Regions from separate parts of the Homo sapiens genome. Here regions 1, 2, 3 and 4 are each linked to region 5. Evidence: promoter capture Hi-C in 16 types of primary human blood cells and fetal thymus (Javierre and others, 2016). All regions are on one chromosome and are shown on one strand. Each heading gives the region's core, a stretch centred on a gene start or on the middle of the fragment in contact. The rest is flanking DNA. Distances are from core to core; before and after follow the strand shown.

Region 1 (2,700 bases), core at 201-2,700, 590 kb before region 5:
GCCTTCAAACAAGGCTCAGAGACACAGGGCTGGAGCCTGTCGCCTGGCTCTGAGCTGCGTGTTAGATTCCTGAGCATAGCCCCCAGCTCCACGTGGGGTGGCTGACATTCCTTGGGTTTCTCTCCACCCTCCCTGCTGCCCACAGCCGGGAGGTCCCTGAGCTCTGCCTGTTCTCATCCCGGTCCACTGCCCCTTCTGGGGACCTTGGCATCTCCTGGCTGTACACTGGCCATCCTGCCCGCATGACTGGCCCCCACACCAGCTTCCTGTACTTATACATTGGTTACTTGGTTCATTCAACTCCTACTGCGTGCCAGGACCTACTATGTGCTAGCACCACTGCTAATCCCTGCCTACTGGAGTGAAAAACATAGTTCCTGCTTTCTAGGAGCTTACAGGGTAGTGGAGGCGGGATGGTGGGTTTCGGGGGGGTTGGGAGGGGGACCATGAGACTCCACGAACTTGGGAATGAACCCTTTCAGGGAGGGGTGGTGAAGCTTAGGGTGAGGTAGGTCCGGTGCTGTAGGAGGAAAAGGGCGGCGCAGCTGCTGCCACAGAACGGGTCCCAGCACAGGGGAGGCATGAGTTCAGCCTTAAAGGACGAATAGGAGTCAGCCACCTGGGCTTTGCCCCTCCCTGTTTTCCATCTGTCAAAATTCTAACTAAAAGGCCCAACTTAAAAACCCTTTCCCCACCACACATGCTTCCACTCTTATGAGTACTCAGTAAATGTTGCAGGCAAGGTCCTTCCCTAGGCCCCTGCTGACTGTGCAGGGTCCGCTTAGGGCCTCCCTTCCCCGGGTGGTAAGAACAGCGCCCCCTAAAGTTCTGCAGTGCACAACCTGCACAGCTACACAGGATGGCCCTTAGGCTATCGGTGATTTTCTTCCTCAGCATCAGCCCTGCCTGCTTTCACACAGCAGAATATCAAATCCGTCCTCACCTTGCTCGACTCTGCTGCCCATCCACCACTCTGTCCATTTCCACCTGCCTCACAGGCCCCTCTCCTTCCTTGAAACCTTACCTCTGCTTTCAATGGCTTCTGCTGACGTGGCAAACCACGTTTAAAGTGACCACGGCCATAGTCCTGTCCCATCTGTGTTCTCAGAATCCTCCTCTGAGCATCGTTTTAAGAAATATATCGATTCATGGAATTAGGGAGTGTCAGCATGTGTGCATGGACTACAAATGGAAAAGGGAAGTCACGTCATTGACCATATACTGTGTGCAAGCCACCGTGCTAGCTGCTTCACATATCTAGATAGAGGCTATTTTAAGTGAAAAGAAGAAAATTATCTCAGCCTTTTAGGATGGAATGGAAGGGAGCCAAAGCTGGAGGCATTTGCTGAATGCACACATTGAATACATATATGACAAAGCGCTTCAAGTTCCATTTTCTCCCTTCCTGAAACTCCTTCTGTACATATAATGCCCTTTGGTCTATCATGATAGTGTAGATGAGTGTGAACTGAAACAGACAAATGAGGGCTTGAGACTGTCTTCCTAAGAGTGGGAATTGAGCCCATCATTTCAGCTCTCTAGGCCTCAACTTCTTCATCGATGCTGTAAAGGTAACACTAGAAGCACCTCGCAGGCTCACCAGGATTTACTGGGCAACCCCACACCAAGTGTTTAACATGCTGCCGGTCACATATTAAGCAATACACATGAGCTACTCTTACTGTTGCCGTCATTGTTGAGATGCCAGCTTCTTTCCTTGTTGGAGTCTCCATGCCTGCTCAGTGTACATTTGAGTGATGAGGATGAGGATGGCAGGAGCTGCACCAGCCCCATTCCCATGCCCATCTCCATGGGTCCAAGCAATCCAGCAAGTGGGAGTCAGGGGGCAGCCCTGAGAGAGGTATCCTGGAAAGCACTAGTTGGGGCACTGGTTCTGCCAAGTCCACTTTTCTGGGAGCCACTGTCACCACACGAGGGTGCGAGAAATAAACCAGGAGTATGCATACAGCTCCCCAAAGGGTGCTGAGAGGCCGAGAAGGTTGATGTTTTCCAAGTGATTTGAGATTGTCAAGTAAAATCCCCTATGTAAATATGATTCCCTAATGGATTCATGGCAGCAAGGGAGATGTCGTTCAACTGACTATTTAACAAAGCTGTTTAAAGAGAGAGAGATGGTGGAGATCATGTTTTATGTATTAGATGTGAAAAAATTCTCTTTAAAATTTGTCTCAGTCATCTGAACGCTGGAGTTCCGATAAAGACCCAAGTTTTATGATAGATGTTTTACAAGGATGCACACCTTCTCTGGCCTTCTCTGGCATCACCCCACCCTCCACTTCCTTCCCTGATCAAATCCTCAAGAGATACATTTAATCCTCCCCCATTCCCAAAATGTTCTAAGGCAAATATGCAATATCATTTTTCAAGTGTGCATTAATAATGCAAGCTTTACACCAAGTTTTCAAACTGGATTGGCATCCTGGGCCGATGTAGAAATGTCTGGGTCAAATATACTTTAAAGAAAAATTTCTTTAATTAGTTTCTTTTGAACGTTACACAAAGGCCTTGCCTGATAGCGAGGCAATTTATTGCCATCTTGACATTGCCTCCGTGTTTATCAGTTAAATGATTCTATTGCATTGAAAATAGGACATCTTAGCTCTGAAGGACCTTGCAGACTTGTGTACTTACTATCCTTCTCCTTGTCTGCTTTTGAGAAGGCTCTGGGCATTGTTCTCT
Region 2 (2,748 bases), core at 116-2,615, 570 kb before region 5:
CCCAGAAAGGGCTGAAATGCTTTTCCAACACAGGAGAGGTCAGAATAGGACCAGTCACAAAGCCAGAGCTTGTGGTCTCAGAGAAGCTGCCCAGGAGCCTCCGGGCTTCCACTCCTCTGCCCACACATCCTCCCAACCTTGGTCTTGTGGCATCTTTCCAGACACTGTCAGGGATGGTAGGCCATGGAAAGATTCAAAGACCAGGACAGTGGTGCTCAGAACTTTGGTGCACAACAGACTTCAGGGAGAATGTTGACAATAAAAACATCAGGATGGTTTAGGGCATCTGTGTGGTTAGCAAACTCCCTGTGTGTCTCTGAGGCATGCCAGAGTTTGAGCCTACTGGACAAAGGAAATCCTCAGATGGAAAAAGGATGGATGTCTCTATTTGGTAAGCATTTATTATTGTCACTACTACTATTAATATTGTTAGAAGAATTGAATTTTACAGCAAATGTTGTAATAGTCAAGTAGCTGAATGATAATTACCAATAATGATAATATCATGATTTGCAGCTACTGTGTACCAGGCTCATTTTGTGCATGAAAACATATCCTTACGTAAATAAAATGTGGTACATCCATACAACAGAAAATTATTCAGCCTTTTAAAATACAGGAATTTCTGACACATGCTGCAATATGGATGAACCTTGATGACATTAGCTAAGTGAAACAAGCCAGTCGCAAAAGGACAAAGATTGCATGACTCCACCAATATGAGGTACCCAGAATAGTCAACTTCACAGCAACAGAAAGTAAAAAGGTGGATACCAGGGCTGGGGGAGGGAGGAATGGGGAGTTACTGTATAATGGGGACAGAGTTTCAATCTGGGAAGATAAAAAAGTTCTGGAGATGGATGGTAGTGATGGTTGCACAACGATGTGAATATACTTCATGCCACTGGACTACGCCCTCAAAAATGGTTAAAGTAGTAAATTTTATGCTGTGTATACTTTACTACAATTTTAAAAATTATTTCAATAAAGCTAGGTTGGAAAGTGAAGCATGAACTTCAGAGTCAGGCAGGTCTGGATGTGAATCCCAGCTGCCTGAACAATCTTTGGCAACGTGACCTCCCTGAGCTTCCACTTTCTTTTCTGTGATATGAGGAGGGGGCAAGAAGCAACATCTTGGGGTGTATGGAATGGCAGCCATTTTACAAAAATTATCTCAGATATCTGTCCCCCAGCCCTATAATGCCAGTGGGTAATTATTAGCCTCATTTTACAAATGAGAAAGTTGAGCCTCAGTGAAGTGATGGAGTGTGTGTAAGGTCACACAGTCAGGAAGTAGAAGGGCCAGGGTTCAAAATATAAAGATAAAGATGAACATAAAACTGGGCTCTGTATTTCCTGCATTATGATCCTCCAGACACATCTTGAAGCACACGCAGAATCTCACCTTGGGTTTGAAGACTTGGAGGGCACAAACCCAGATGCCCGATTTAGGGACCACTGTTCAGATTCTGATATAAAACCTACTGTTTTAAAGGCCATTACCCAGCACCTCTCAGTTTATGGGCCTCTTTTATATTTACAAGTCCTATGAATGTGCAATTGAAATAGACCAAAAAATGTGTCTCTAGAATCTTACGTGCTTGGAAATCAAAGCAGGACACACTGGTGAAGACAGAAGTTGTTCCAAAAGCTGAAGTCTAAATTATGGGAATCAAGTTGAAATCTCAGTTCTCAGAGTAAAGTTCAAAATACATAAAGAACCAGACAAGATAACAGGTATCATTGCCAAGAGAAGGGAATGGAACTTCAGCAGGAAAAACAAGCCCAAGAGAGTTATCAGATGCTAAAGACCCAGGGTTTCCATGCCACTTCCCCGCCGGGGGCCTCACATGGAGCCCCCTGACTCCAGGATGTGCCATTCACATGTGCTATTCAATAAGATAAATGGTGCCCCCTTAAGTTGTGCGGTATGCCAGCCGGCTCCATCTTCAGGTTATGAGGATTTCTAAAGAGATCAACCATGGTGGGGAGTCAAAGAAGATGGTGAAGTAAGATGTGGGAAATGCCCTTTCAAAAGGTGAAAGCAACATATCCAACATGTGTGCAGCACCTGGTCTGTGTCTCCTTCCTAGGTCTTCACTTGTTTTGTCTCATTTTATTCTCTGCATCTCCCATTTAAGAAGCTCAGAGAGGTTCAATAACTTGGCCACAGTCACACAGCTAGTTTTGGTAGAACCCCAGTTGGAATCCAGATCACTGACTGCACATCAGTCCCTCTCCATCCAGCCACCAGCTGAGAGGACTCCAAGCCAGTCTGGACATGATTTTAACCAGGCCAAACCAGGCTGGAAGAGCCATTGAGGGCTGATGGAAGGAGGAAATTAAGCCACAGAAAGGTAACCTGAAGGGTTTGGGGTATAAACAGAGGGAGGAGGAGACCCAGTTCCTCTAAGCTCTAAGGACCGGGGGGATGAGAATTGAGGGGTTACTGTTGATTAGCATCAGTGAAAACTAGCATCCAGGGTAGGGAGCTGCCACTTGTCTCCCCACTTTCCCAAGTCTCTGTCTTTCCAGGCTTTACTGAGGGATGACCAGTCTGTCCCTGGGTTCTGAACATTCTGGAAATGGCTCTACTGGGGTATTGGAGGGTAGGGGCACTGGAATGCAAAGCTCTGACTTTGGGTCAGGAAGCCTATCTCAGGCACTTGGGTCCAGAAGTGGCCTGTGAACTCAGCATTGGATGGGAGAAAGAGGGACTGAGGTCTTGTCCTTTCTTGGCCCCTTTGA
Region 3 (2,700 bases), core at 103-2,602, 550 kb before region 5:
AGATGATAGAGAAGCTTCAAAGAGGCTTTGGATAGAAAGTAACTGAGAGTGCAGGGCTGTGGTATCTGAACTACTGCCTCTTTTGCCATACATTCGTTTGTTCAGTAAATGTCTAGGAACATTTACCCCATGTGTGCCGCTGTGTTCAATGTTATGGAAGATTTAAAGATGAACAAAATGTAATCTGTGTCCCTCTATTAATCAATTATTGCATTGCTATAAAGAAGTACCTGAGGTAATTTATAAAGAAAAGAGGTTTAATTGGCTTCTGGCTCTGCAGGCTACACAGGAAGCATGGCACTGCCATCTGCTTCTGGTGAGGGCCTCAGAAAGCTTCCAATCATGGAGGAAGGCAAAAGGGAGGGGCTGGCATCACATGGTGAGAGCATGAGCAAGAGAGAGAAGTGGGAGGTGCCACACTCTTAAACAATCAGATCTCATGTAACTCAGATCTCGCAAGAACTCACTCATGATCTCAAAGACAGCAACAAGCTATTCATGAGGGATCCACCCCCCATGACCCCTCCCACCAGGCCCCACCTCCAACACTGGGGATTATATTTCAACATGAGATTTGAGGGGACAAACATCCAAACCACATTAGTCCCTACAGATTTTATACGTGAATGAGAGGAAGGCTAAACAAAGATCAGATGGATTCTAACAATGAGGCAGACAGTGATTGATTCCACCTGGGGTGGATGAAAGAGCCTTTACAGAAGGGCCCCAAGAAGAGATGGGGAAGGAGGAACAGGCATTCCAGCAGAGCAAAAGGGAACCACGGCAGAGAAAGGCATGACTTTTTGGGGAAGAATGGCTAAAAGTGGGGAGGGTGGGCTGGAAAATATGTGTCAAACCCTAAATGTAAATCTGGGGAATTTGGGATTAATCCTGTGGGCATTGTGGAGCCATAGACGGGTTTTTAGCAAGAGGAAGACGTAAGTGAGCTGAGAATCAGATTTGGGAGGTAGGGTGGGAACCTAAAGCAGGATTCCCATCTTAAAGGATCTGGAAAGAGAACCTGGGTTTTGATCTCAACTCTGAAATGGGCTCCTGTGTGAAATCAGGCAAGATACCCACTGCTGTGGGCCTCACATTCCCCCTGTAATGCTCACAGGTTACCAGGATGGCCTCTAATGGCCCATCTGGCCATATGTCTATGATGTGAGGGCTTCCCCTCTTCAGAGTAGACCCGGCTTCCTCTGCAGTCCTCAGCATGCCTGGCTCCTTCTCTCACCCTCCCAGCAGGCCCAATTGGCCCTCCTGCCCAGTTCAGGAATCCTGGGCACTGCCAACCCCAGGAGCCAGGCAGAGCTGGCTCAACAACTCTGGGAGGTCACGGGCAGCTGATCAGGAGGCCATGGAGAGAAGTTGGGCCCCCGGCTCTTCCTCTCCCACTTGTACCTGGCAGCCAAGTTGGCCAACAAACAAGAAGTTGAGGAGCTTGTAACCACATCAGAGTTCGCTGCCGTTTGGCTGCTGGGCTGTGGCAAAGAAAGTGTCCTTGCTCTCTTCGTCTCTGTATTTCCGTCTCTGGCTCTTGCTCTCTTCGTCTCTGTATTTCCGTCTCTGGCTCTTGCTCTCTTTCTCTGGCTCGCATTAGGCAAGTGCTTTGCCCTGGAATTAAATGAAGCTGTATGGGGGTGGGGAGGAAAAGAGAGGGAGGGGACAGCGGAGCCCAGCCTGCATGGCTCAAGTCCAAATCCTCCCTTGGCTGGGTGCCCAGGGTGGTCCTAGCTTACTGTCCACGTGGGCCAGAGGGAGGAAGAGAAAGGGGACAGCTAGAGTCAGGGCTGGCCACGGGGTGGGGGATGGAGGAAGTGTGATGCCTGAAGAGGAACTAAAGGTAGAGATTCTAGGGAAATGGGAGTAAAAAGATCTGTAAGCAGCCAGTACAGAAGGTAACCCATTTTGCAGAGAGTTGAGCTGCCCAAATAATGTTGGGCATTAATGTGGGGTCGGGGTCAGGGACTGTGCACAAATGTGTGGGGTCGGGGTTAGGGACTGTGCACAAACACACTGATAAAATGTTTCATAAGCCTCCCAGTGTCTTTGGCCCCAAACGTGTGAAGTCGTATAACTGAGTATAGTAACCACGAGCGTGCATGTCACCACAGACAGGTATCTTTGGGCACAGAGGCGATGGGCCTGCTTCCTCTCCAGCCCCTTTCCTAGCTTTGCCCCAGCTCTCAAATGCCCCAGCCATGCAGAAACACTCACTGTCTCCTGATCACACCATGTCCTCCCTGAATCCAGGCTTTAAAATGTTATTTTCTGTTCTTGAAGCAGCCTCCTCCCCTCCCTTTCTTCTCCCCACTTCCCCAAACCAGCTTGTCCTTCCCTTAGTGTAGCTCAAAGTCACCTCCTTCAAGAAGCTTTCTCATATCCTGCAGCACTCATGTCCTAGGCTGAACTAGATGCCCCTCGTTCCTGCCCCAGGGCTCCTGTGCTTCCTTCCAGGGCAGCACCCACTGCCACTGTGCATCATAATCCTATGTGTCTGCCCACTTCCCTCTCCCACACAATGGCAAACTCCTTGAGGGCAGAGGCCATCTCATTCATCTAGCATAGCTCCAAACACACAGTAGGTGATTAATAATTCACTTAGTCAATAGCCATTAACTGAATACTCAACAGACATCAGGCAAGGGGCACATAACAAGGGTCAACGCAGATAGTGCCTGCCTTCCTGGGTCTCCC
Region 4 (2,872 bases), core at 126-2,625, 680 kb before region 5:
CACTGCCATTCCCAACGCTCACCATACCCGATCCTGCCTCTTTATTTTTGCTCATGCAAAAACCCAACATCCTTCAGCAATCAGCTAAAATGCTCTCTCCCTCCAGAATCCCCCCAGAATATTCTCTCCCTCACACTGTGCAGAATTTGGGCTCCTTATTCTAGCACTCATCAAAGTCTACTTAGAATAGGGCCATTTGCATAGATGGGTAATTTGCTAAGTCTGCATTTAAGTTTGTACTACATGGAACAGGATGTTAGCTCTGAGGTGCCAATGAGATAGATACCTGGAAACAAAGTGAGTGTGAGTTGGGGCTACTCCAGGGCAGTCAGGGGATGGGGTAACATGAATTGTCAAGGGTGTGGTGATGCTGTGGGACAGAAGGAAGTGTGTGGGTATGTGCACACCAGTCTGCATATGTGCACTGGGGACTTCACACACACAGAGCTCCTTGCAGTCCTAAGTGAGCATTCAGGCCTCATTCTCTCTCTCTCTCTCTTCTCTCTCTCTCTCACACACACACAAACACACACACACACACACTGCACATATAATGCAAAGACATCTTGTAGATCTTCACATTCTTAAACCTCATGATTGGTACAAATTAAACAAATATTGAAAGAAACTCCAGCAGAGCTCTCCAAGCCTCAGTCCTGCTGGGTATACCAAAACACCTCCAGCAGCTGAACAGCACAATGATAAGGAATGACAATATGTTTTACCCTTTCTGGAGTGCTGTTCACAAGCAGCTCTTAGATCCTTGCGATCTGCTCCCATCTTTAGGGAGGAGGCCTGAGGGCACAGTCTGTTTGAGGCAGAGCTGGTGTTCAAAGTCCCTCTTGGGATTCTGACTCCCAAGCTCTACGGGCAGAAGCTGTGGAAGGCTTTATATCATCAGGTACTGCATCTCCTTGGGACTCTCTCCACAAGCAGAGTTCCTCCAAGCCTCACGGATCTACGCCTCCTTCTTCTATGAGACAAGAAACTGGAATTTTCCATGTGAGCTAAGTAATGAGGGCATGAGCATGCACATCCTCCCTTGAGGTTCAGCTTAGACACAACTTCCCCCAGGAAATCTCTCCTACAACTCTCCCCTCATCCCCAGGCTCCAGTATGTTCCCATAGCACCAAATCTTGGCAGGTAGTATAGTGGCCTGTTTGCAGGTCCGTCATCTGGATCCTGCAGCAGCCTTTGAGCCCTAACCACAGGGACAGGGTCTCATTCACCTATGGGTCCAGGTCCTGGCATATCTTAGACTTTAACAAAGCCTTACTGAACATATGGTTGGATGGATGACTGGATGGACAGATGGATGGAGGGATGGATGGATGGATGGATGGATGGATGGATGGACAGATGGACAGATGGATGGATGGATGACCCAGGATGCAAATGAACTCTATGCACAGCTACAGCTATAGAAGCAAGGCTCAATCACTTGCGGGTGTATGGGGAGAGGAGGAGGAGGGAGAGGGAACGAGAGCCGGCCTTTGTCCTCATCTCTTCCACCCGGCAATTTTCCCAAGGAAGCATGAGTTAGTCTTCTAAGGAAAGTAGAGGGGATGTGAATAGAGAAGGAAACCCCACTACCTTCAGTGGGGTCCAAGAAGGCAGCTCAGCCCTCAATCCTAGATGCCTCCTGAGCCCAGAGATCAGTCTTTAGATAAGAAAGTGAGTGTTCTCTGTCACTGCCCCTGCCAGGGGGAGAGAGGCCCCTCCTATACCTGCTCCTAGTACACTCTGCACCCATTACCAGTTTCCCTGGCTGAAAATCTCAAGAGATTTTTCCTCAAGTACTTGTATCTACAGGAGTTTAAGAAATGATCATGCAGAGAATTGTCATCCCCGACTCCTCTGCAAACCCTACAGAGGCTTGGAAAAGTTCATCTTCCCCAGACTCCCAACATTCTCTTTTCTGTGGCCAGTAGCCAACCATGAGCGAGTTCATTAATATTAATGTTAATAATCTCCTACATTTGCTTCACGCTTTCCTGCTTACAAAGCACTTTCAGATCCATCATCTCAGACAATCCTCAACACCAGCCTGAGAGGTCAGCGGGGCAGTGATTACCATCCCCATTTCACTGAGGAGGGAACAAAGGTCCGGGAAGAGAAGGGATCAGCCCAAGGTCACAGAGCAGCCAGGACTGGAGAGAGCTCAGGGCAGAGTCCAGGTGTCCTGACCCCCAGGCCAGCGCTGGGTTACTCCACCTCCATGCTGACAACCCCTTTCCTTCTCTGCCTCATCAATGTCACCATTGGCGTCATCTCCTGGTTCTCAGTCATTAAAAAGATAGGCTTAAAATAAATACAAGAGGCAGGCTTTAGCCATCTGCTAAAATGGGTAAAACGACCTGCCAGCAATTTGCTGGATGACCTTGGGCTAGACAGTTTCCTATCTGGGCCTGCAATTCCTTGTGTTTCAAGTGACAGTGCTGGCCTCTTCTCCTCCGGCCCTACCCACTGTGACGGGAGGCTGCTGGAACCTAAGGGTGCCACCCTTGGTGCCAGACTGGGGCTGGCAGCAATCATGCCTCTGCGATCCCCTCCTCAGCACTCTGGAGTGGGAGGGATAGACACCTGTCATGAGCCTGTGACAGCCAAAGGATGGAGCTATAAAGCAACAGAGGACTGGCAAGAACCCTCCTGAGCGTGGGGGTGGAGCTAATCACAATTGCTACAGTGTAGCTACTCTATGACAAGTGCTTTATGCATGTTATTGACATGCCTCAAAATAGTTCTACCAGACAGCAATTAGCAATTATTTTCATTTTAAAGATGAGACACTCCAAGCTCAGAGAGGTTTCTTGACACGCCCAAACTCACACAGCAAACAGCAGAGGCAAGTTCCAAACCCAGATCTGCTCT
Region 5 (2,700 bases), core at 1-2,500:
CAACCAGGGCCTGCCAAAGGGCCCCAGACTGCTCAGCAACAAATTGCCCGTAGAAGCTGGCATCCCAGGGTGTCATTCACCCTACTTCTCAATATCTGAGAACCCTCTGCTCCCTTTGGCTTGGGATGGACTTTTGTTATTGTTGTTGTTTCAGACAGGGTCTCACTCTGTCGCCCAGATTGGAGTGCAGTAGCACGATCTCGGCTCACTGCAACCTCTGCCTCCCGGGCTCAAATGATTCTCCTTCCTCAGCCTCCCGAGTAGCTGGGATTGTAGGCGTGGGCCACCACACCCAGCTAATTTTTGTATTTTTAGTAGGGACAGGGTTTCACCATGTTGGCCTGGATGGTCTCGAACTCCTGACTTCTGACTCCAAGTGACCCACCCGCCTCGGCCTCCCAAAGTGCTGGGATTACAGGCATGAGCCACCGCGCCCAGCTGGCTTGGGATGGACTTTTTAAAAAGACACTCAGGTTTGGAATGTGGAGATCAGGAGCTCACCTTGTAAGACAAGCCACATTTCTGAGCTACCTCTTCCAGGTCTGCAGAAACCAGGTCCACCACTGAAAACAAAACACGTATAGCGGATTGGCAGAGAGGACTGGGGCCTCCCACACTTGGTTTTTCCTCATCTGTCAAATGGGGTGTCAATTCTACCCCCCGGCAGGCCGTCTCAGGAGGCCAGTGTGAAATAACAAAGCTGCAGGAGCCGGCGCGGTGCCCTGCACACAGTAGGAATCTCTACCCTGTTTTAGAGCTTGGCTCCCCACGCCCACCCTTCCTGAGCCTCTCCAGAAGCGCGGCCCTCTAGGAATGGAGGGGAAGCGCCCTGCAGGTATGCCAGGGCAGTGCGCCAGCCCTCGGGGCCTGCCCAGGTTGTGCGAGGCCCGCGCGGCTCCCTGGCACGCGCACACCCGGTCACCTGTCTTGATCCTGTGGCTCCTGAGAAGCTGGATCATCTCCTCGGTAAGGCCAGGGCACAGTCCGACCCTGAGCACGCCCATGTTCCCCGCAGGCCGGAACAGCCCCAGGGGGACTGCACGTCACGTGGGCATTCGCGGGGGGTCCTCTCCAGACGCCCCTCCCCTACCCCTTCCTAGAGAGGACACAGGCGCGCTGGCTGCCGGAGGAGAAAGGAGAGAGGAGGAGGCGGCACCAAGGGTAGGGCTGGGGGTCATCCGCCCGCCCGGGATCCGCCGGGATTCCCGCGCCCAGAGCCCGCCCGCCGGGTCGCGCCGCGCTGCCGCTTCCGGGTTCCAGGCTGGCGCGCGGCGAGGACCTGGCCTGCAGCGCCATCTGCGGGCCGCACGGGGCAGAGCCGCTGCGCCCCTCTCCACCGCCTGCACAGGTTCCCGAGTCCCACGACCCCCTCCGCGCTCAACACGCCACCCGCGGCCACATTCGGCCTCTACCTTCTGCCGCAACACACACACCGACCTTCTAAAGAGCCTTCTGTGCGCCAGCTTCCGTTCCAAACGGAACGGATCTCCGCTGGAGACAAAATGCGACACAAGACGACCCGCCCTTACCCCCAGGGAGCTTACTGTGAGCAAGGGAAAGACAGACAATGAAAAGGAATCGCAGAAATCACATCATTACAGATTATACGACAGGTGTCAAGAAGCAGCAAAGCATCCAGAGGGCACCTGCGTCTATTTTTCAAAAGTTTGTTTTGTTTTGGTTGAGACAGGGTCTCGATCGGCCGCCCAGGCTGGAGTGCCCTGGTGAGATCTCAGCTTTGCAGCCTCGACCTCCTGGGTTCAAGCGATCCTCCTGCCTCAGCCTCCTGAGTAGCTGGGACTACAGTCACGTGCCACCTTGCCCAGCTAATTTTTGTATTTTTTGTAGAGGTTTCGCCTCTACAAAATGGGGTTACACCATGTTGCCCACACAGGTCTCGAACTACTGGGCTCAAACAATCCTCCTGCCTTGGTCTCCCGAAGTGCGGGGATTACAGGTGTGAGCCACCGTGCCCGGCCTCTATTTTTTATTTTATTTTTTATTTTTTTTAAGGGCAAGAAACCTTGGTTATATAGAACACACACAAAAAGATATGATTTGGTATTTTTAAATGTCCTTTGCTTTGCCTCATCCATAGGAAGAAATAAAACTTTACATGGTTATCTCATCACAAATCTGTGAGGGAGGCGCTATTTTTTATCCCTGTTTCACCAATGAAGAAACTGAGGTTCAGTGAGGTTAAATCACTTGCCAAAGGTCACCCAGCTAGGCGGCACAGGGCTGGACTTCACATCCACATCTGACTCTGCAAAGCCAGTGCTTTCTAACAGCCCCCCTCCCCACCCCTGAAGCTGTGTACATGTTTTCCTACTGTAAGGTGGTTTCTCTGAGAGCAGAGATCATGTGTGGCCCATCTCTGTATCCCACTGCAACTGCCACCATTGTCACTCCACACAGGAAAGTACTTGGGAGTGTGGGTGTGGCACATTTAGAATTCTAGCAGTGAAGTCTGATCATATGTGAGCCATGAACCCCTATGAACCATGTGGGCTTTCCCTTTCACTAACCGACTGGGCACAGTGGAGTCTGCAGCCTATGGTTTCAGGATAGAGAGCCTTAGCTTCTACGGACAAAGTTTCCCTCCCCAGCAGACACTTTCCAATACTGCCTATCTCTCAGGGCCACACCACCATCCTCTACATCCCACGCCCATCTCTCACCATCCTTATTCTCCTTCCC

What was found. Contacts are between HindIII fragments. The CHiCAGO score rates a contact against its expected background, and 5 or more counts as called.
Region 1: a fragment that was not itself captured here is called in contact with the fragment with the promoter of RAD51D in region 5 in 2 of 17 cell types (naive B cells and monocytes); the score reaches 5.8 in naive B cells.
Region 2: a contact is called between a fragment that was not itself captured here and the fragment with the promoter of RAD51D in region 5, in 6 of 17 cell types (neutrophils, monocytes, total CD8 T cells and 3 more). The highest score is 11.0, in neutrophils.
Region 3: a contact is called between a fragment that was not itself captured here and the fragment with the promoter of RAD51D in region 5, in 1 of 17 cell types (neutrophils). The highest score is 6.0, in neutrophils.
Region 4: a fragment that was not itself captured here is called in contact with the fragment with the promoter of RAD51D in region 5 in 1 of 17 cell types (M2 macrophages); the score reaches 5.3 in M2 macrophages.

What each region holds. Positions count from the first base shown.
Region 1 is chr17:34,527,231-34,529,930 of GRCh38, forward strand. No RefSeq gene overlaps it. Among named protein-coding and RNA genes, the nearest start is that of TMEM132E-DT, 51 kb to the right of the region's middle. The HindIII fragment of the contact is 1,910 bases long and covers 496-2,405 here.
Region 2 is chr17:34,544,411-34,547,158 of GRCh38, forward strand. No RefSeq gene overlaps it. Among named protein-coding and RNA genes, the nearest start is that of TMEM132E-DT, 34 kb to the right of the region's middle. The HindIII fragment of the contact is 3,877 bases long and covers 1-2,748 here.
Region 3 is chr17:34,570,213-34,572,912 of GRCh38, forward strand. No RefSeq gene overlaps it. Among named protein-coding and RNA genes, the nearest start is that of TMEM132E-DT, 7.8 kb to the right of the region's middle. The HindIII fragment of the contact is 2,042 bases long and covers 332-2,373 here.
Region 4 is chr17:34,440,406-34,443,277 of GRCh38, forward strand. No RefSeq gene overlaps it. Among named protein-coding and RNA genes, the nearest start is that of CCL1, 79 kb to the left of the region's middle. The HindIII fragment of the contact is 5,517 bases long and covers 1-2,872 here.
Region 5 is chr17:35,118,610-35,121,309 of GRCh38, forward strand. It overlaps RAD51D (RAD51 paralog D), which reads right to left and starts at 1,251. Exons shown (of 10, transcript NM_002878.4): 1 at 923-1,251; 2 at 502-563; 3 at 1-10. The coding sequence starts at 1,004. It overlaps RAD51L3-RFFL (RAD51L3-RFFL readthrough), which reads right to left. Exons shown (of 7, transcript NR_037714.1): 1 at 2,682-2,700. RefSeq lists a silencer at 1,114-1,313 and an enhancer at 1,524-1,583. The HindIII fragment of the contact is 14,701 bases long and covers 1-2,700 here.